7 separate regions of the Homo sapiens genome follow, and all the other regions are linked to region 1. Evidence: promoter capture Hi-C in 16 types of primary human blood cells and fetal thymus (Javierre and others, 2016). All regions are on one chromosome and are shown on one strand. Each heading gives the region's core, a stretch centred on a gene start or on the middle of the fragment in contact. The rest is flanking DNA. Distances are from core to core; before and after follow the strand shown. Region 1 holds the start of MSL2 (MSL complex subunit 2). Region 2 holds the start of OXSR1 (oxidative stress responsive kinase 1). Region 3 overlaps ATXN7 (ataxin 7). Region 4 has its middle 2.0 kb from the start of ARL6IP5. Region 5 holds the start of EIF4A2 (eukaryotic translation initiation factor 4A2). Region 6 has its middle 23 kb from the start of GPR15. Region 7 overlaps SERPINI1 (serpin family I member 1).

What was found. Contacts are between HindIII fragments. The CHiCAGO score rates a contact against its expected background, and 5 or more counts as called.
Region 2: a contact is called between the fragment with the promoter of OXSR1 here and the fragment with the promoter of MSL2 in region 1, in 1 of 17 cell types (total B cells). The highest score is 6.4, in total B cells.
Region 3: a contact is called between a fragment that was not itself captured here and the fragment with the promoter of MSL2 in region 1, in 1 of 17 cell types (activated CD4 T cells). The highest score is 7.7, in activated CD4 T cells.
Region 4: a fragment that was not itself captured here is called in contact with the fragment with the promoter of MSL2 in region 1 in 1 of 17 cell types (total B cells); the score reaches 5.2 in total B cells.
Region 5: a contact is called between a fragment that was not itself captured here and the fragment with the promoter of MSL2 in region 1, in 1 of 17 cell types (total CD4 T cells). The highest score is 7.0, in total CD4 T cells.
Region 6: a contact is called between a fragment that was not itself captured here and the fragment with the promoter of MSL2 in region 1, in 1 of 17 cell types (activated CD4 T cells). The highest score is 5.2, in activated CD4 T cells.
Region 7: a contact is called between a fragment that was not itself captured here and the fragment with the promoter of MSL2 in region 1, in 1 of 17 cell types (non-activated CD4 T cells). The highest score is 5.8, in non-activated CD4 T cells.

Annotation. Positions count from the first base shown.
Region 1 is chr3:136,194,743-136,197,731 of GRCh38, forward strand. It overlaps MSL2 (MSL complex subunit 2), which reads right to left and starts at 1,593. Exons shown (of 2, transcript NM_018133.4): 1 at 230-1,593. The coding sequence starts at 371. RefSeq lists enhancers at 381-450, 501-550, 550-1,296, 601-670, 1,297-2,043 and 2 more and a silencer at 1,011-1,400. The HindIII fragment of the contact is 2,546 bases long and covers 128-2,673 here.
Region 2 is chr3:38,163,959-38,166,947 of GRCh38, forward strand. OXSR1 (oxidative stress responsive kinase 1) reads left to right here and starts at 1,579. Exons shown (of 18, transcript NM_005109.3): 1 at 1,579-1,988. The coding sequence starts at 1,919. It overlaps LOC101928234 (a long non-coding RNA gene), which reads right to left and starts at 1,518. Exons shown (of 5, transcript XR_940733.2): 1 at 1,439-1,518. RefSeq lists enhancers at 254-1,453, 614-693, 844-973, 1,244-1,343, 1,737-2,352 and silencers at 1,584-1,973, 2,024-2,073. The HindIII fragment of the contact is 1,868 bases long and covers 1-1,633 here.
Region 3 is chr3:63,909,383-63,912,371 of GRCh38, forward strand. The region is part of intron 2 of ATXN7 (ataxin 7); the gene reads left to right. It also overlaps SCAANT1. Among named protein-coding and RNA genes, the nearest start is that of ATXN7, 47 kb to the left of the region's middle. RefSeq lists an enhancer at 2,270-2,349 and a silencer at 2,680-2,989. The HindIII fragment of the contact is 1,242 bases long and covers 982-2,223 here.
Region 4 is chr3:69,081,475-69,084,463 of GRCh38, forward strand. No RefSeq gene overlaps it. Among named protein-coding and RNA genes, the nearest start is that of ARL6IP5, 2.0 kb to the right of the region's middle. RefSeq lists enhancers at 603-662, 1,467-1,626. The HindIII fragment of the contact is 2,467 bases long and covers 150-2,616 here.
Region 5 is chr3:186,782,309-186,785,297 of GRCh38, forward strand. EIF4A2 (eukaryotic translation initiation factor 4A2) reads left to right here and starts at 1,269. Exons shown (of 11, transcript NM_001967.4): 1 at 1,269-1,331; 2 at 2,124-2,169; 3 at 2,256-2,388; 4 at 2,654-2,793. The coding sequence starts at 1,303. It overlaps SNORD2 (small nucleolar RNA, C/D box 2), which reads left to right and starts at 2,488; the gene lies at 2,488-2,557. RefSeq lists an enhancer at 1,945-2,174. The HindIII fragment of the contact is 193 bases long and covers 1,470-1,662 here.
Region 6 is chr3:98,553,360-98,556,348 of GRCh38, forward strand. No RefSeq gene overlaps it. Among named protein-coding and RNA genes, the nearest start is that of GPR15, 23 kb to the left of the region's middle. RefSeq lists enhancers at 2,424-2,989, 2,675-2,989. The HindIII fragment of the contact is 1,318 bases long and covers 740-2,057 here.
Region 7 is chr3:167,736,322-167,739,310 of GRCh38, forward strand. All of the region lies in intron 1 of SERPINI1 (serpin family I member 1), which reads left to right. Among named protein-coding and RNA genes, the nearest start is that of SERPINI1, 2.1 kb to the left of the region's middle. The HindIII fragment of the contact is 3,664 bases long and covers 1-2,989 here.

The DNA of each region.
Region 1 (2,989 bases), core at 343-2,842:
CATTTTGAACGTTAACGCCGCTGCACAAAGCGGTATGAAAGGGTTCTCTGCCTTTCTGAAACGCCGGGCAAAAGTCCCTCAGCAAGTTTCAAAACTAATGACCGTACAGCGCTGCACAAATAACAAAAGCTTAATACCAACCACCAGGCCGTCAACCCGCTCACGTTACCACTGCCCAGAAGGCTTTTAAAAACAAGCATTGAAAAGGGAACAATAAAAAGCGTCTCACCGCAAACACAGCACGAAAGGGACTGTCGGAAGTAAGGCAAGAGCCTGTTAATCTCAGTAAACGCCTTGGGGTCTCCGGGGTCGTAGTTGAGCACTAGGCGGCTCGCGGAAATGTAGAGAGCAGTAGCATTCACGGGGTTCATTGCAGACACTTCGACACCAATGGCTCCCGGTTGAAAAGAAATTCCGGATCCAACTTAGTAAGCAGCCAGGGAACGATGGCGAATTTGCAACAATTCGGAAGAAATCAGAGCCGAACCATTGGCCAAACAAGTAACCAAAATCCGTGCAAGTTTGTGGAGCTGAAACAATCCTCCCACACATGGGGCCTTGGCGCCCCTCCGTCCCTGAGACTTCCAGACCAAAAATATGAGAGAGAAACCAGCGTTCGAGTTCGTCCGGAGCGACCACAGAGCGCAGAACGCGGCGGCTTGGGCGCTCGGGGCGGGACTCGGAGCTCAGTCTAGCCCCGCGGCTCGGCAGGCGGCCTGCACTCGAGCTCCATCTCCGGACACGGAGGCGCCTCCTCAAGTCGAGCTGGCAGGCGCGGGAGCAGGCCCCGGCCCCGTCTGAGGCGCGGCACGCTTCTCCCGGGCTGCAGGGCCTCTTACTCCATCCCAGTACAGGGCGCGGAGGCGGCGGCGACGGCAAGGACGACGGTCGGGCAGCGGCTTCCCGGATCTAGTGCAAGACGCCGCGGCGGCGACGAAGGTTGATGTTGCGGCTGGCGGACGCCGCCGCCGCGCTCTCCATATCGGACGCGGGGCCCAGACTGCGCCCTGGCTCTCCGCCCCGTGGGTTGCAGCCCGCAGTTCCCCGAGGTGGCGAGGCGGGCGGGAGTCCTCAACCCGGAGGGGAAGGCCGGGGAGGAAGTGCGCGGGCCGCCGCCGGCGGGCGGGAGGGGGCGGGGGGCAAGCCCGGCCGGGCCGCGGCGGCGCCCCTCGCGCCTCAGTCGCACACTCCGGGGTCACCAGACTCAAGCGCCGCCCCCTCACTGCCCGGCCATTTTTTCGGCGCCACACACACAGACGACTCCTCCGCCGAGCACGACGGCCGCCGCCGCCCTCAGCACTCCCCGGCCGCGGAAGGCAAGCGCTCACACCGCCAGGCCCCGCCGCCGCCCAGCGCACACAGCAAGGCCCCGCCGCAGGCCCCTCCCCCGTGCCTCGCCGCCCTCACCCCGACTCCACGCGCCACTCCAGCTCGGTAGGGCCCGGGCTGCTGCGGCCTTAATGGATCCCGCGGGCTGTGTGGCGCCTCAGGCCTCTGCTGGCGGCGACGACGACCGTTACCCCAACGGGCAAAGCCACTGTCATCCCCGAGACTCCCCCGCCGCCGTCGTCGCTAGCGCTCGCACGCATGCGCAGAGCACACTCTCACCCCTCCCCCCTTTCCTCTCCCTTCGCTTCCCTTTTCCCTTGCTTCTCCTCTAACAACCCCCTCCACAGCCTCCCAGAGCTACCGGCTCACTCCACGCATGCGCAAGCTGCTACCTAGCTCCGCCGCCTTTCGCCCTTCCGCGTGCGCTTTGACCGCCCACCCAGAAAACCGGATAAACACATCAGCCTGCTCGCGCCAGTCCCTCACCGCTGCCAACCCACCCTGGGCTCACTGCGCATGCCTGGCTCTCCACTTCGACTCTCAGAATGGAGCATGCTCTCTGCGAGCCGACAGCTCTCTTCGCCCCTCCCCCACGTGCTCTCAAATTCCCTCTCCCAGGCATGTGGGCTGTGGTGAAACATTCGTTAGCTGGCACATCCTTCCCCAGTGTGGGCTGCAGGCTTCCCGCATTACACTGCTTCTGTGCCCGCCAACGCCGGGGCCCGACTTGGTAGCGCCATGTGGCGCTCTGCACTGGCCTGAACGCGGCCTCTCGTCCTGACTGACCGCGGTGTGAGGAAATAGCCGCGCCAGGCCCCAAGCCCCGCCCTCGCGGCCTTTCTCCTGGAACCGCTCATCCCGACCGCGGAAAGGGCGCAGCCTCGGCTGGCTGGCAGGCTCTCGCCGAGCCGGGAAGGCTGCAGTAGTCAACGTGGCTGCGCGCCCAGCAGGCGTGCGGACGGCTTTTGCCGGGTCGGGGCCGCGTTCCGCACCTCTCTGCGGTGGTTCGCAGTCAGAGGGCTCTAAGGCCCTGGCAGGCTGTATGTAAGCGTGGAGGCTCGAACCCACTGCCCCCTCCTACCCGTCGGACCCGCGCTGTTCCCACGGCCTCTGGCCCTTGGACTCGTGCGGCCTCACCTTCATGGGTGCCGATCAGGACTTCACCGAGCTCTCACCGGAACAGAGTCCTGTTTTAAAAACAAAACGAACTCCTTTTTTTTTTTTTTGAAAGACCTAGCTTTTTTAAAAGACCTAGCTCTTCTGTGTGAACAGATGTCTTGAAGAATGCGTGATCTTGCTCTAGAACAAACCCAAATCCTTGCAAATGTTTTGTTTTTTAAAACAAGCTTTTGCCTTTTGTTTTTGCAGGAGATCAAGGGCACTGGGATATAAATAAACAAAAGCCTGACTTAGTAGATGACTTCCCTCCCATCTCAAAGTACAAAACCTTTTTTTGAGTAGCACAAATAGTAACAGGCCATAGGAAGCATTTCTTATCTCTGTACACACCAAAGCTCCTCAGCATAATTTTTCATGCACAGTAGGTACTCTATACGTTTGCAAAGTGAAAATTATGATGCGTGTAAATCTATTGTGGCACATGTTACATATGTACACAGGCACGTATATGGAACATGTAAATGTGGTACGTGTTAGTTAC
Region 2 (2,989 bases), core at 329-2,828, about 98 Mb before region 1:
CAAACATCCAGTTATTTTAGTTTCTTTGGCTAATGTTTAAAGTTATTACTGCCCTCTTGCTTATCAAGGGGTTCATTAACTTTTCAAGGCTAGCTAAGTGCCGGGAATTTCTCTTGAAGTAACTCAAGATTTTCCTTTATTTCCATGGTTGAGGGCCTGCAGGCCCTAAAAGGGGTCCCTGCTCCGTCTCAGCTGGGCCTAGGTGAAGGTCTCTTCCTTTTTCTGAGACGGTGTCTCCGTCTGTTGCCCAGACTGGAGTGCAGTGGCATGCTCTCGGGTCACTGCAACCTTCGCCTCCTGCTTCAGCCTCCCTAGTAGCTGGGATTACAGGCGCCAGCCACCACGCCCAGCGATTTTTCTGTATTTTAGTAGAGAGGGAGTTTCACCATGTTGGTCAGGATGGTCTCGAACTCCTGACCTCAGGTGGTCCGCCCGCCTCCGCCTCCCAAAGTGTTGGGATTACAGGCGTGAGCCACCGCACCCGGCCTAAGGTCTCTTCCTTAAAGACTGCCGTTGGACTGAAAGGTGTCCAACCTAGAACAGTTTCGCACCTAGCCCTATCCCTGTTGGATGCTCATTATTTTTTAAAATCCAATTTACCAAGCGTGTTCAGTCTTCAGCTCGCTAATTTCTCTAACGGCCGTACGTAGTCAAACTGAGAAAACTGTTCAGTGGGGGCGACAAAAGCCAACGCCCGTGAGACAACCCCCAAATCCGTGGGTCGATCTCACTTGTTTAATACCCCAAGCCCTGTCCGGGGGGAAGAAAGACAACCTCCCGAGTCCCTCAAGGCAGGTGCTTATTTGAGCTTCAGATCTAAAGCTGCGAATGGACAGAACCCGCCCAGTGCAGGGTGGACCCGCGAGAGACAGCGCCGCGACAAGCGTTAGAGAGAACGTCCGCCTTGAAAAAAATGTCACCAGGCAAACTTCCAGTTTCACTCCGACCAGTGGCCCAAGGCCTTTTATCCTAGTTGGCAGTGGTCCACACCCAAAGGCTACCCCACCCAGCCGCTCCCTCAGGGTTTCTCCACACCCTGTAGAGCCTTTCGCACGTCTCGAGGGTGTGACGGTTACGCCGTGACGTCACTCCAGAGGAAGTGGTAAGACGAGCGCGGTAACGGAGCTCTTGAAGGGCTGCAGCCCTAACACGGAGAAGCGCGCTAAGAGCCTGGAGGCGGGACCAATTTATGACTGACGTCTACCCACACCCATTGCTTTTCTGATTCCTTCTCAAACAAACCAATGAATGCGACGACGGAGACAGCAGCGTGCCCCAGGCGCTAGAAGTGGCTCTGCCCCTTCTACTTTGCTGCCCTTTGGTCGCCATGCTTAGTGTGGCTACTGCCTCTGTGCTACTTGAGGCTCTCCTACGGCTTTTCGATGCCTTCGATGAACCTCTACCTAAGCACTTCTTCCCTTTCACCGCGAACTCCTACCTTCTCGGGTTTCTAGCTTGCTCACTTTACATCCAGCCACACTGGAGATGGCGGCCGGAGGCGGGCCCGAGGTGGGGCGTGACCAGCGCAGTGACGTCAGCGCGCTGCGTGTCGGCAGGTGGAGGAAGAGGGGAAAGTTTGGCCCGTGCGTGGGGCTGGGGTGGAGGGCGGGACAGAGGGGCTGGGCCCAGGCAAAGCTTCTGTCGCTGCTGCTGCGGAGGCCGAGGACAGGACGTGGGCTGGGCCGGGCAGTGCCGGACTCGGAGGAGCAGGAGGCGAGGTCCGCCGGAGCTCTGAGCCCCCGCTGCTCTGCCGCGCGGTGACCCCGCGCCCCGGCGCCGTCCGACCCGTGGCTGTTCCGAGACGATTGGTGGGGGCGCGGCGGCGGCGGCGGCGGCTGTTGGGGGTGGGGAGACGCGCGGCGAGGAGACGAGCGAGGTCAGCGAGTTTGAGGGAGGACCGCGAGCCGCTGCCGCCGTCATGTCCGAGGACTCGAGCGCCCTGCCCTGGTCCATCAACAGGGACGATTACGAGCTGCAGGAGGTGATCGGTGAGAGCAGGCGCTGCGGAGGGGGGAGGCGCGGCGCTGGGAGGCGGGGGACACGGGAACGTGGGGAGCCGCGGGAGCTCGGGGAGCGCAGCCCTCATAGGAATTCGTGGGGCGCTTGTGGGGCTGGGGGCTTGTAGGACGCTTGTGTCGAGGAGCGCGTGTGAGACGGGAAGGGGGTTTTGAGGCGCGCGCCTGTGAGGTGGCGTGGGGTGGGGTGAGGCTTGAGGGGGCTCAGGAGAGATTTGTGTACAGGATTCTCAAATGTGTGGACAGGAGCGGCCCATGTGTCTTGTAGAGAAAGAAAGTGCAGGTGTGGGACAGGCCTTTCCGAGGCTGTGTGAGAAATGGGATCTTGAAGTGGGCACAGCCATCGATTTCTGGGATTGTGGGATAGATAGGGAGCTTTAAGTTTTTCCTCCATCCGTGCTGGGGCGAACTGGGGATCCTCCAGGTGAAGCTGCAGGAACCGCGCTGAGCAACCGAGACCCAACTTACGACTCCTTCCAACTGACTTTCCAGTCGGGGAGGTAGACATTAAATAAGAAGACAAAAAGAAGTAAGAAGGGCTGGGCGTGGTGGCTCACGCCTGTAATCCCACCACTTTGGGAGGCCGAGGCGGGCGGATCACGAGGTCGGGGGTTCGAGACCAGCCTGGCCAATATGGTGAAACCCCGTCTCTACTAAAAATACAAAAATTAGTTGGGTGTGGTGGTGCGCGCCTGTAATCCCAGCTACTCGGGAGGCTGAGGCAGAAGAATCCTTGAACCCGGGAGGCGGAGCTTGCAGTGAGCTGAGATCGCGCCACTGCACTCCAGCCTGGGCGACAAACCCTGACTCTGACTCAAAAAAAAAAAAAAAAAAAAAAAAATTTGAAGAGGCTTTGGCAAGTGCCATGAAGGAGATAAACAAGATGTTCTGATAGAGAATAACCTGGAGATCTACTTAGGGTGATTTCAAGGAAAATTCTTTTTCTGAGGCGATAACATTTCAGTTGAGCCCTG
Region 3 (2,989 bases), core at 353-2,852, about 72 Mb before region 1:
TAGTGAGACCTTGTCATCTCCACACACACATACACACAAAAAAAATTTATACACAGTTATATTCTTTTTATAATTTGGTGGTATGGAAAGGGGATTATCTAGGTAAGAGGTCATCAAGTTCTTTACTGTGGGACTGTAGGTAATACAGCTAAGTATTGGGTTTCTGTTGTACTCTTGTTTATAAACAGTATGCTTTGCATAAGGAATGCTTTTAAAAGTTGCCAAAATTCAGATATCAGATGCAGTGTGTCAGCTTGCTGTTTTGACTTTTTTTGGTGACTCATTCCAACTTTAAGGAAACTTCTAACGACTATGGATATCAGAACATTTCTAGGAGTTAGGACTTTTTTATGGGTGAAGAAAGAGTGGGTAAAATGCATTGGCTGCAGCAAAAGAGAACTGGTTGAAGAAATACCAGGAAATGCCCGTCAATCTCTTGTCTGCACATCCTCTTCAGTTTGATAGTAAGTTTCCTAAGGGATTGAGCTGAATTGCTCAGTTTAATATAAGACACTTATTTATAGTGCTTATTTATGAGATTCCTCAATAATTGATAGCTTGCTATTAGTTTTGAGTATTGAGGTACTCAATAATTGGTAACTGCTATTTGTAATAATTTCCCTTAATAACGATCATAATGCCAAGAGGATACTTAATATTTTTCATTTTAAGCCCGCTTGTGTTTTATTAAACCAATCAAAAACTTTGAAGAAAAAAAGAGGTATCAAGCAGGAATTGGGAAAGAAGTTGAAGTACTCTAAATTGCTGCATTGATCCCCATTGGCTAGAAGTCATATTAGTGAATCTTGAAGTAGTTTCACATCCAAAAGAGGAAAGTCAAGCAATGTCTTGAGGAAGTAGGACCATACTTCATGTTTGCCATTCTCCTTATTTTTGTTCTCACTCTGTAGTTTCAGGGATCTGAAGAGCTGTACTCAACAAGCAAGCTCCCTTTGTTATCTATATGGCTTGGTGGCCGCAAGCTTTTCTTTTCAATGGTAGCTTCAAATGCCGTTAAAATCCAAATTTTCGTTTTTCTTAAGTGTAGAATTTCACAATTCCAAGTAATAAATTGTGTACTTTAGGAAAACAGAGGTTGGGTGTTTTCATGTAATTATTCAGATTTTGCAGTGATTTGGAATGAATGAAAAATTGAAAATCTGCATAGGGGTCATCTAAGCTATGTTAAAAGTTAGAAGGGAACTCTATTCCTGTCAAGGGAATTATATGTTTTACTCCTGTGCATTTTTCTCATTGATAGTCTTATGGAGGAAGTTAAAGCTGTAGAAATGATTTTTAAAATTAAATCTTTCCAATCATTTCTACTATTTTGGTTATTTTGATAAGGACAGGAAGTAACCATGGTTTCACTTTTTGGACTTGTTTGCACGCAATCCAGGAAAAAATTTTACAGACTTATTTCTAAATCTTTCTAAAATAAAAATGTGTGTGTGTGTGTGTATGTGTAAGTATGTGTGTGTGTGTGCGCTTTTAAATTTTGAACCCCAAACCCTCTCTAGCAATCCCACCTTATGTTTGGGTTGCAGTGACATTTCTTTATTAATTTTTATGCTTATGTAAACTTCCTGTGTTTCTGCAAGTTGGACCAACAAAGAAGTTGGCTACCTCTGTCACATCAGATGTTTGAGGTACAAAAAAAAAAAGAATTCCACTTCCTCCCCATCTAGTCAGAGAAAGCACTTGTGAGCAAGCATCTCTGACACACATTACAGGAGTTGATACTACTGCAGTGTGAAACATGCGTGAAACATGCTGATAAGAATCACTGTTTTTGTCTCAGGCTTCAAATTTTCACATCAATTTGAGAAAATAGTAATATCAACAATTATTGAAAGTGGTGTGGTCTGCTACTGTTTCAAGTATTTTTAATGCTTTAGGTCATTAAGTAGCCTTTTATTTTGCCATCTGTAGCCTATCGCTAAGCAAATGTTGTGTATGTTGGGGAGGGGTGCTAAGTTTTGCGGGCCAATGCTTAATTTAGTGAACAAAATTTGACCGAAAACAGTATTTTCTAAACATGTTTTGTAGGAATTCCTTATATTCTCCTAATCCCTAGGGTCTCGTCCTGCCCAAGAAAAGACAACCATAAAGAGGGAAGGACTAACAACTCAAGTTAAAAATGAATCAGATTTTTACTTTTGGGGTGAATGAATCACTTCCAGAAACTTGGGGTGGTGCCTCTAAAATATGTACACGGGTTAAAGCTTCTCTCGGTTTGTTTCACTCTCCTCCATTCCCTCGCACACTGATCTCATGTTCTCTCTTTGCTGGACGAATTCAAGTTCCCCAGGCGCACAGTGTGACTTCCAATTGCGGGTCGGGGGCACACATGTGGGCGGCGTGGCGTGCACACGGTACTTCGTCCTGACACCTGGGCAGACACCTGGGAGGCACTTCCCCGCTAGCCCAAGGTTCCCTGCACGCCCGGAGTCCGCTCTGCGGCGGCTTCCCATTCATGCTTTTGACAACTCTGCGGCCGCCCGCAAGCCGAGGGCAAAGTGCCCCCTGCACCAGCCTCTCCCGCGCTGCCCTGGGGCCGGCCGGCCGGCTCCTCCATAGGTGGCTGCATTTCCGACTTCGCCCTGGCTCCAGTCCGGGGGCTTGACGTGCAAACTTCGCCGGAGCGAGCTGAGAGGGAGGGACCGGCAAGTGGGAGGAGGCGGCGGGAGGCGTCTCCGCTTAAGGGAGCCGGCCGGGTGCCGCCGCTCGGACGGACGCGCGGACGGAAGGAAGGAGCGGGGCAGCCGGGCCGGGCCCGGGGATGCAAGCGGCCGAAGGGTGGGCAGCTGGAGGTCCTGGGGTGCGGCTCGGGCTTCCCCGCGCGGGCTGCCATGGTGGGGCGCGGGGTTGGAGCCGGGCCGCTCCGGCGCTGGCCTCCGCGCCAGGTCCTCTGAGCAGAAGCAGGCAGGGGACCCAGCGCCGCGGTGGCGGGCCGCCTGCTGCCCGTCCCCTCCCTCGGGCGGCCGCG
Region 4 (2,989 bases), core at 133-2,632, about 67 Mb before region 1:
AAGCCTGGGGTGATTCTCCACTGGTAAAGTTTGAGGGCCACTGAAATGGAGTACATAAAGCCTGATGGGTACTCAGTAAATGTAGCTGCTGTTACTACACTGTGATATTTAACCTCCTCTTGTCCTAGTTTTCAGTGAACCTTAAGGAAAGCTTGTCCTTTATGGTCCCCCAATTAGGTTCAGTTCAATAGCATTCACTGAGCTGAAAGTCAATGCCAGGCAGTGAGCGTGGGAATAGAGTTCACAGTCCCTATCAAGAGATACCAGCCTCCTTCTGCATCACATGTCTCAGCGTCAACTATGAAACTACTTTTTCTTGCCCAGACAACTCCACAGATGGTTTCACTGAGGATTTAACCTCAGTGCTTATCAAAATGGGCTCCTGTAGCCTGAACCCCCAACAATACTGGATACCCTTTGATTAGTGGTAGTGAGCATTGCAACCCTCTCAGATAGTGAAAAGCAGCAGTCACCTTAAAGGCCACCTAGTCCAGTCTCACCCATTTCACAGGGGAGGAAACTGAGGCCTAGGGATAGAGTACAGCTAGCCGATGAAGAAGTCTGCAAAGGTATCTGGCCCTGCATCTGCTTGCTTTGAGACTAACAGCCTGACTCACCATGGTGGTATTTTGATAAACGACACCAGGCACTCTCACTGGCTTAGATTGATTGACGGATTAGAAATAGCCATCTGCCCTTGCCAGGAATGAAAGCAACAGAGACATGCAAGCAAAACCTTCAACAGATTTATTTTACTTCAAATGGAACATATCATAAACAATTAGACTATCTGCTATGGTTTTTAAACAGACAGATAGTCTGAATGGTCCTATCTAGACACACCAGTCCCATTATAAAAGCCCCATCAAGCAGGGCTCGGCTTCCCACACCTGTAGTCCCGGCTACTTGGGAGGCTGAGGTGGGAGGACTGTTTGAGCCCAGGAGTTTAAAACCAGCCTGGGCAACATAGTGAGACCCTGTCTCTAAAAATAATAATAAATTAAAGCTCCAGAAAGACCTCTACAGTGAATCTGACCCCTCCCTCCCCGGAATGAACACTAACAAAGAGCTGCTACTAATAGCATTTCAAACAGTTACTGGAAAAAAGTAATGACTCATTACATGTTCATTTTTATTTAAAATAATTTAACAAAGGTAGAAATATTTAGAGAAAAAAAAAATCTCCCATACCCCAAAGAGAGAGACAGGGTTAACATTTTGGGAGGGAGACAGAAGGGAATCATGCTATAAACAGCTTTCTCTGTCTTTTCAGAATTTATTTATTTATGTTTAAACCTCTAAAGAGGTTTAATTCTTTCTTGGGTATCAATTGCCTGTGATCAAGGAGTAATCATATTGTTACTAATACACTCTTGACAGCTTTTGGTCATGCAGTTCTGAGCAGTTGGAAGATAAAGTTCTTAGTTACAGCTTCTAATACTCATAAATCTCACCAACAGTGTGGGGCCCCACTGGAGTTCCCACTCTCATCTTGACCAAGATGATTTACTCAGCTTGCCCACAGTGCTGCCTCTTGACATTCTGAAGCCCTGGGGAATTCCTCCACACCCTCTGACTTCCTGTAACTGAGCACTGAGGCTCAGTGCATCTCTATTTAGCACTCCTCTTACTGTCTCATATTTAACTAGTGTTTCCACTGGATTGCAGAAGTTTTGAAGGCAGAGCAGGATTACATTTTTCTCCTCTTTAAAAAAAAAAAGAAAAGAAAAGAAAAAAAACCCACAGTGCTTTCACAGAGCCTCAAAAGAACTCGAAATACTTGCTGGCATTGTACTGAATATTCTCAACCTTTTCCCCCTACCCAGATACATCCACAACAATAAAGTTGGAGCAAGGTAGAGAAAAGTTAGTAGATGTTTATAATGAAAGCATAGAAAACAAATCAGATTAAAGCACTATTAATAGCAAACAAGAATCGTGGGCTATCCTATTGCTAATAACAATAATAGTAACATATAACTGTGAACCTTTATTATACACTAAGCATTTCCTATACATTCCTTCACTTAGCCTCGTCTATATGGCAGATGTTCCATTATCCCCACTTTACACATGAAGACACCGAGGCTGGGAGAGATTAAGTAGTTTCTCCAAAGTCACCTGCCAGAGAGGAAGGAGCTGCGACTCTAATTTTGCTTTCTCTGACTTCACACCATCCCATTTTTCCAGAATCAAGAAAACATGAGCACTCAGGAATATTTTCACATTTTAAACTTTATTCAAAAAGCAGCACATAAGATATATCTTAGCACTAATTCCATGCAATCACCAAATTTTCCTAAACAACAGTAGTAGTAGTAATTTCTTAGAGTCGCTGTAAGCTCCTTAACTGTCTTCTGAATTAATAAGGAAAATTAAATTATGTTTTCTAGACTTTGCATTAGTATATTTCATTACTTTCCAAGTTTTCAAAAATTGGTGATCTGAGTAGAGTGAATTCACCTTGTCTAAGCCACTTAGGGGCTTAGAGACTCTGTTATCTTAGAAATCTTCACCTTAGAATTCTACCTATTACATTATACAATTAAACAAACTACTTTTTTTCTCATGCATTGTACCAATCAGCCCCTTAACTGAAAAAAGATGACCCTTGGAAGCTTAGAAGAGAATTGACAACGAATACTTCTTTTGCCAGGTCTTTGGGCTGGGATACAAAACATCACGTTATCTATGAATATATTGTGGTCCCTCAGTGAAAGCTGTCACCAAATATTGCAATAAAACTAAGAAAACTTTTGAAGTGGAATGCATATTTCTGCCCAGAAAATGCTGGATGCAGAACAACTAGTTCACTGCAGACAACTGTTTGCTTTAAAATGTAAGCAACATGCCCAGCTCAGGACTGAAGTGGCCAGAGTGCCTACTTTATCAGAATGGCATAGCAGTCCAACAATTTAGCCTAGAGAGAACAGAGGTGGAGAACAAAGAAGAGAAGTGAAAAAAACAGACCAGCCCTTCTGTTCTACAT
Region 5 (2,989 bases), core at 316-2,815, about 51 Mb after region 1:
AGAATTTTCAAATAAATAAATAATTTTTGTATTAAAAAAGTAGTATTTAGAACCGAATATCTTCTATAATATAGAAAATTGAGTCAGCTTTCCCAGTAATGATTCTTTAAGTTGGCCTTCTGAAATATGAGAAAATGTTACCCTGATAGTCTCGATGATATTTTGCACCATGGGTAGGGTTGTATTTTAAAGTTAAATGACTACATATATTGTTTTTTGTTTTTGTCGAGAGACCTGAGATGGGGCTAATTGAAAACGTCTGGAGCTTAAAGACCCGTGCAGTTTACGCAGCAAGGATATTATTGCTCTGAATTTCAATAAATCAACATTTCACTATATATCGGCAAAGTCTACAGCCTTTAAAAAATGACCAATATAGACGGAATCAAAACCGATGTAGTCCCAAAGCGGCACAGAGCTGTATCTGCCAAAGCGTCCATTTAAATTCGTGCGTTCCAAGGAAAATTACTGCTTAGTTTCTATCCATTTGCAAAAGTTTATGATTTTTTTCAGGCATTCCTCACACCTGTTAGGTTAAAATCAGTAACACTCTTAAAAAGAAAGCGAGAGACCGGAAATGATATGAGAATAGAATTGGCCACTCCAGAGACATCTGCAAATGACACTCCATTTTTCCTTCTCGCGCTGCAAAATGTACCGGTAAACCGGACTTCCCGGGACTCGCTGGGTGGCCGACATTTTCCCTAGCAGGAATTTTACGTTTCCAAGATCTGAATGGATGTTAACGGTCGGGCTAAATGCCAGGCAGGTCTTCATTGTGGAATTAAACAGCGGTGGGAGCAAGCGGAATAACCGAGTTCCCCTCCCGCACCTGAGTGCCGGCAGCGAGCCGCGAGCCGGGACCTGTCACCCGCGGGAAGCCCCGGCCGCCCGACGAACAGCATCTCCGGTTTCCGCCTCCGGCTCCGGCGCGGCTCCCCCGGCCCGCCTCTGCGTCAGGGACGCGGAAACCCCGTAGGAGCAGGGCGGGCGGGGAAAGCGAGGTTTAACTAACTCCGCAGCTATATTCTTCCGCCGCGAGGTAAAGAGTCCCAACCCAACCCCGGGCCCTAGGATTTCCAGCGACCCTGTAATATCGAGAAATTACCACATTTGGGTTTTTCTACCAACTTGCTTAGGATTTTATCCGAGGTAACGACCCCAGGATCACAATTTTGTAGCTGACCGAAGCACGGCGAGAAAATTCCTCCGCAAGAAACGGGTTCCGGCCACGAGCCTATAAAAAACGGGTGGTTGGGCGCCGCTGTCTTTTCAGTCGGGCGCTGAGTGGTTTTTCGGATCATGTCTGGTGGCTCCGCGGATTATAACAGGTATGCAGTCTGTTGGCGGTCGCGGTCTGTAGTGAAGGTCATAGGGCGCCAGGGGAGATGATAGTGGATGGCACGGAGGCAAAAACTCTAAATTAATGGACGTTTTCTTAGGGTACAGCACTCCTGTGCCCTTCCAGAAGCTTCCATGATGGGTAGGGCCCGGATTGTGGGGAGATAGGACGGTGGTGCGAAAGCAGTGGCTAAAGGGCGTTTTTCCTCTCTAAGACATTACGAAACTTCGGCTGCTTTCCTTCCCAGTGTAGAGCACGGGAAACATGGAGTAAAAAGCCGTGGCGCAGTCCGAGTTCGGTACACTGTAACCAGGACCCGAAGCTTTATTTTCGGTCATCCACACGAGTTGGGGGAGGGTCCTAGGCTTTACTTGGGGAAGGGTTGGAGGCAGCGGTCTCCACTCGGCCACGGCGCGGAGGCGACGGGACAGGACCGGTGCCGGTGAACCGTTGGCATCGCCCTCGCCAGGCCGCTCCGCCCGCGTCAATCACCCGGCTTGCGCATTGTTGGGGGCGGAGTTCGGCGCTCCGAGCTCTCGCGAGACGCTCCGCAGTTGAAACGGGATCGCCATGCGCTCGGGCCTGGGGGGCTGCCTTTCCGGGCATCCGCAGGCCCCAACCTTTAGGGAAGGCGCACAGTGTGGATATTCGCCCTGAGGCTGCTGCTTTAGCTTGTGCAGGGGAGGCTAACGTGCTGAGACGGGTTGCAAAGGGCTATGCGCTTAAGGTGCAGTTGAGGTGGCCTGGAAGGGGTGTCTGACTGCAGTATTCTTGTCAGCAGAGAACATGGCGGCCCAGAGGGAATGGACCCCGATGGTGTCATCGAGGTAAGAAACGGTTGTGGATCTTGAAGCTTTGGAAAGGTGAGTGTGTTCATCTCATTTATGCGTGCATTATTTTTTCTAACTTACAGAGCAACTGGAATGAGATTGTTGATAACTTTGATGATATGAATTTAAAGGAGTCTCTCCTTCGTGGCATCTATGCTTACGGTTTTGAGAAGCCTTCCGCTATTCAGCAGAGAGCTATTATTCCCTGTATTAAAGGTAAAAGAAACTGGCATTTTTAGGAAATTGTTCTACATAGACATGAACCATAAAAGGGAAAGTAACCTCTGGGGGACTAGCACCTGTTTGTATTCCTTAAAGTGAAATGATGGCAATCATCTTTCGGGACTGACCTGAAATGAAGAGAATACTCATTGCTGATCACTTGATTATTTGGGCATAATGTTCCAAATGGAATACATGGTGTGAAGTAGAAGTGACAATTTGATGTGGGATCGGTAAATGTGTATCCTACTTTTTTTAGGGTATGATGTGATTGCTCAAGCTCAGTCAGGTACTGGCAAGACAGCCACATTTGCTATTTCCATCCTGCAACAGTTGGAGATTGAGTTCAAGGAGACCCAAGCACTAGTATTGGCCCCCACCAGAGAACTGGCTCAACAGGTATTGATAGTGTAGTTCAAAAAAACTGCTTGCGTGTTGCATAGGTTTCAGGTTTCACAACTGTGAAGAATTTAAAACTTAGTATAAATTGGTCCTACCAGATCCCTCCTTTTAATTGTCCATGCATGCAGGGAGTTTTTGTTGAAAGTTTTAAAAGAACTGGGTATGCAGGTATGGTTTGTAGGGTTGTATACTA
Region 6 (2,989 bases), core at 149-2,648, about 38 Mb before region 1:
CTGAGGAGAAGCCAGAGGCAGAAAATTCTTCCGGCAATGCACATGCAAAACAACACTGACTTTCTGATGTGGGTTAGGTGTGAGTACAATCTTAATCTAAAATGACTCCTTAAATATGCTCCTCTACCTGAGATTAAGGTACTGGGGAAAAAAACGTTCTGAAAGTTTGCTACTTGTTATTCTTTCTAATGAAATACAGGAAAAACTTATTTTTCTTTGGATACACTCAGTGTGAATAAAATTAACTCATGGACCAAATTCCTAGATTTAAACTGGAAGGAAGTAAGCTCTAGAGCCCTATCTTAAATTCCCAGCATTGTTTCAGAAGGCCACTGGAGTCAAACTTTCATAGCCTTAGCATAGAGTTGTTTCATCTGAGGACCTTCTCGTGTGTCCTGCGCTGTCCAGTATATTTCTTCATTTAAAAACTTCAGTTAGATCTTTTCTCTTAATTGCATTTTTACCCAAAAGAATAAGCCAAATTCCTGCAAGGTTTAGGAAATATATGTATATGGCAAAGTACTGGACTAGCGAATATATGGCAAAGTACTTCCTCACTTCACACCCATACTCACAACAGATGTGGCTAATCAACTGCTTCCAGTTCCTGGAAATTGTAAAATATGGTAGTGAGTTTCTCTGTCAACAAATTCTCTGTTGGCCAAAGGAAGTAGCTTCTGTGTCCTTCCTCTTTTAGTCCCTTCAGGCCTTTCAAAGTGCTATTAATATATACTATAAAAGCTTTGTTAGGATCTATGTAATAAATCATTACCTCATAGAAATAGATCATTCCCTGTAATTAACCTTTTACCAGCATTACTAATCAATTATGCTTCTCTTTCTTATCTGCTCCTGTTAATCTTGTAACATTCCATATGTTAAGTAGAAATCATAACTAATTAACATTTATCCTTTAGGTAGGCCAGGCTACTTACTAAAAATACTCTGCAAAACAGTTTGTCTTCTTATGGTTTACTGTTTACAACCTGAGCCAGAATCCTTCCACTTCCAAGTAAGACTGGGGTTCAACTGGGGTGGGGAGCACATCAAATGAGGGGGTACATCATTCCCTCCTTGTCTAATGCTTTAAGACTAATCAAATCAAATTCTGTAACACTAAAGTTGGAAAAGAACTCTCTTGATGCTTAAGATAAGTAATTTTTAAGACAATGTAAATACACTTTAACGAAAGGAAAGAAAAAAGGGAAAAAAGACAATGTAATACACTTAGAACAAAAGACTTGTCATACACGATACATAACACAAAAGATTAGCTTCAGGAGAATGTAGATAATTGCATGATGGTAGATTTTTATCTTTCACTCATTTGTTCAACAAACATCAACCATTACCAAGCCAAACACTTGCCAGATACTGTTTTAGGCATTGTATATAGGCTCATCCTAGACTTTAAAAATTGTCTGGAGAGTAACCACCAGGTCGCCATACATAATATCCCTGGATTGGTCTAAAACAGGTAGGATTTGGGTGGATGAATTGTAAATCTGATCCAGTTTGGCATTTCTTATGATCTAATAACAATTCATTGTGTATATTGATTTAAGAAAATATAGAAACATAATACTACCTAATGCAAACTCTTTGATCTGAGTGATAAAGAATTTGTATAAATAGACAAAAATAAACACCCAGACTGAAGTCCTACCTGTTCACTTGATTAAAACTGTATCTCTTTAAAAGATGGATACTTTGGCCAAATAGTTGGCTTTTTCTGTTCTACGTTCTGAGCTACACCAGTTTCTCCAACATCAAAGTTTCCTTTTCCACCACCTTAATTCGCCATCCTGCTGTCCAAAGCTCATAACTTCAGAGCTTCACTTTGTCCCCAGACTTATACACTGAATTCCAGTGAACCAGAAAGAATGCTCATGGAATACAATTAGTGACTAAACAATTCCAAAACGCTATTGGTTTGCTTTCTTTCTAGACGATGTACTTAGAAGAACAATAATAAAATTTCAAAGGGACCAAAATCTTTCTTTCTACTCCTCTCACATGAATCACCACCTCCTTTGCAAACAAGTGATTATTTACAAAGCTTGTTAAAAAAGTAGTTTAGGCTTGCATTTCATTTAGAATTGCTCTATTGCTCCATATTTTGTTTTCCCCTATGATTTAAGAATAGTTTTATTGTACATATCTTTACAAATATTTAAATCAAAGAGAATTACTGTAGTTTAAAAAATAGAAAAACGGGGCCAGGCGTGGTGACTCACGCCTGTAATCCCAGCACTTTGGGAGGCTGAAGCGGGCGGATCACCTAAGGTCGAGAGTTTGAGATCAGCCTGACAAACATGGAGAAACCCCGTCTCTACTAAAAATACAAAATTAGCAGGGCATGGCGGCACATGCCTGTAACCCCAGCTACTCGGGAGGCTGAGGCAGGGGAATCGCTTGAACCCAGGAGGCGGAGGTTGCGGTGAGCCGAGATGGCGCCATTGCACTCCAGCCTGGGCAACAAAAGCGAAACTCCGTCTGAAAAAAAAAAAAAGAAAGAAAAAGAAAAAGAAAAACAACAGAGGAAAAAACACGGCATGGGTTATGAAAACAGTTATCGAAACAAAAGATTATCTCAGGTGAAAAAAGGAAATTGACAGCGCTACGTAAGCAAAAAGATCTCAGATTGTACTTGTTGACCAGGAGGTAACTGGTAATTAGGAAAGTAAACATTTCTGCCCTCATCTACTATGCAAAACTACATTGTCTTTTCATAAAATTTTGCAGAATCTTACCTTAAAGGGGAAGATCACAGGTTACTACATCACTGCTTTTTTATTCAAACTAAAAATCATACTTCAGTGTTTTTAAAAAGTTAAATGAAATCCAGAACGCCAAATAAAAGGCCAATAGAGAAAAAGAGAAGGAAGCCAGATGCATGCCTGTATTTCTGGAAGGAGAGTTTCTCAAAGGCTTTTTTTTGAAACCTCCTTAGCTAGAGCTAAGGTTTGAGGTTAGCTGAGCATCGCGT
Region 7 (2,989 bases), core at 258-2,757, about 32 Mb after region 1:
CGTATTAAAGAAGCAAGTGCAGGCAGGAATAGTCAGGATAGGATGGGCTCTGACTTAATCTATCAAAAGTATAACTTTTGCCAGCAATAATGTAAAAATGAATTTTAATGAATGGATAGTTAGCTTTCTTCCCAGTGGCTCTGGAATATTGGAACAAAGACCTGGATTCAGCCTACAATGGAAACATATGGTGTACCTCACTGCTGCTCGTTAGTTTCTCATTTGTGTCCGATAATATGTGTACATTTTAAAAACGAGTACATGGAAAGCTGTGTGGGAATCTTTTCTCTGGGTAGAGAGTATGTGCTGAAGGACTACCCTTAATATGTGTTATGATAGTGGGTTCAGTTTAAAACACATGTAGTGTCATAAAATAATAGTTTATTCTCGGTATTAAACTATATGTGCATTCAAAGCAACGTTAATTGTAATACCTATGGATGGAAATAAGTTGTAATGCTGGGTAAAGATGAAAGTCTCACCTACCTTTGTGTAATTATGACAAAATTACAGCCTTTTATTTTTAGAGAAGTAGTAAGAAGCTATTTTCCTAGTTCATTTTCATTTTGTTACAGAGGTTCCCAGATTACATGGCTTTTAATCATAGTAGCATATTGCAGCAAATTTTGCTCTGAAATGCTTTCATTGTGACAGTTGCATATTTCAGAGTCTGTCTCAATACTTTATGTTTTTTTTTAATAACCAGGGTCAATAAAATGGAGTAATTGTCTTGTTTTCTCCTATTTCTATGCTTTCCTGAGTTCTCGGGATTTTAAATTTTATTTTTGTAATGCATCCCAAATTTCTTTTTGAAAAGAAATGGCTCAAATGAATTCTCTTCCCAGATTAAAGTTCAGTCCTACTGAGTGCTACTACCGATAAGCCTAAGTGACTTTTCAGTGTGTATACTCTTCCCTCCCACACTCTCACATACCATAGAAATATATAGACAGATAGATCATAGAAAAACAGCTGCTTTTTAATTACCCCTAAGCAAATCAGCTAAGTATCAAAAACAGCAAAGAGCTTAGAAGAAAGAAAAAGCAACAGTAGCTGCTAAACTTAACCACTATAAGGATCAGGTTTTATCTTTGCTACAGCACTGGAGAATCTATTAATTCACATAGCTGATATGGCCCTGTGAAAATGATTTTGGGGGTAAAAAAAAAAGTGGGTATTAGGGTGACACATGGAAAAGACTGTGTTTGCCCTTGTTATTTGTGATTAAGTGGATTGTCTTGAATCAGTCTTAGATTCTTTCTCAGACCCTACTACTAATTCATTTTGTAAAACTGAATAATTGCTGTCGCTGGGTTATTTCCCCTATGTAATAATTATAATACTACCAATGAAATTCTTTCCGAGCCTTTATTAAAAGATCTGTTTGAAAGAGTTTTATTGGGAAACAGTTAATAAGCAAGCAAATGGATAGAAGATAAATATCTAAACAGTTGAAATTAAGATATACTTTGAATCTCAGCTCTTTATAGGTCTTCTGCTCTGAGACACGGTAAAGGATAGAATCTGATTAGGAATGAATGAGTTTGTGGTATTAAAGTACTGATTTTTTTCACCTGTTTCCAAGATTTGGATCCTTTTTACTGTGTCAGTAAAAGAGATTGGGTTTCAATATCATTTGAAAAAAGACCATGTTTTTATATGAGAGAATATCATTGGAAATATATGGCATTTATTTTTTACCTTGCACTCTTGATTCATGTTAGTTAATATTCACATTCAATCTCAGGTAATCTGAAGATTTTTCTTGATTGGTGTTGAAAACGTTCGTTATATGGCAGTTTATAATTCTGTGTAAAATGCTACCCATGTTATAAGCATATTACTTATTTTGCTCTTTAATTTTACTATTTGTGTATGGCTATCAGTGAATATGTATGATGAGAAAGGAAAAGCAACAGAGTGCAGAATGTCTCTCTTGAATGGAAATTGCTCTGGGGATGATTGTTCTTTAGCCAAAAACCTTGGTTAATTTCAAATTACCATATCCTTTGGTCTTTTCTTTAGAGTTCTGATTCTAAGCCTTTTGAGTAAAAATAAGTTAGCATGGATTTCTTTTTAACAGGAAGATTCACTGATGCATGCAGCACAAAAGAGCAAGACTTAAAGGTTCAAGATCAAATGGTTTTGGTAAAGAAGGATACAGGGGAATAGATATAAAGAAAACTACTTGAGAAACACACCTTTAGCAAAAGAGAAAAAAGATTTTATATTTTTTGTTAAATTCCTATAATCCATGATTCCATGACCTTTTCTCCCCCAGTCATTAATTTGTAGAGGCCTGTATTCATACTGGGATACATTACTTTTCTAAGTAAAATTGAATATTCAAAATCCAATGAATACCAGTCTGATTCCAGTTAAAATGGCAATTTTTACTGGAATAAATTTTGGATGATTAACCTTCCTTTTTTATGCTTTTATAACCCATAAATATTCAAAATCTAATGAATACCAGTCTGATTCCAGTCAATTGCCATTTTAACTGGAATCAAACTGGTATTCATTAGATTTTGAATATTCATGGATTATTAACCATAAAAATCCTACCTGTATACACTAACTTCTAAGTGAAACATTATTTGGACAAAATATCAAAAAGTAAATACCTAAACTGATGTTTTGCCCCTTTAAAATAATAAAGGTACTTGAACCAGACACTAAGATGAGCAAGAGCCCATTTATTTAATTAAGCAAATTCCAAAGGTTAAACACTGCTTTTGGGATCAGAATTAACGTACACAAATAAGGGAGAGATTTTTTTGTTGTTTCTTTTTTTTTTTTTTTTTTAAATCTTAAACCTGTAAGAATTTAGTCTTTAAAATTTGGAAGGTGTGTTTTAAGTAACTACGTTATTAACTCTTAGAGACCATGTACTTCTTTTCTATCTCCTGTTAGTCCTGAGCACTTTATGTCATATTCAGCATAAAGAAATTGAGTAACCAGTTACTGAATTAGAACCATTGGACAT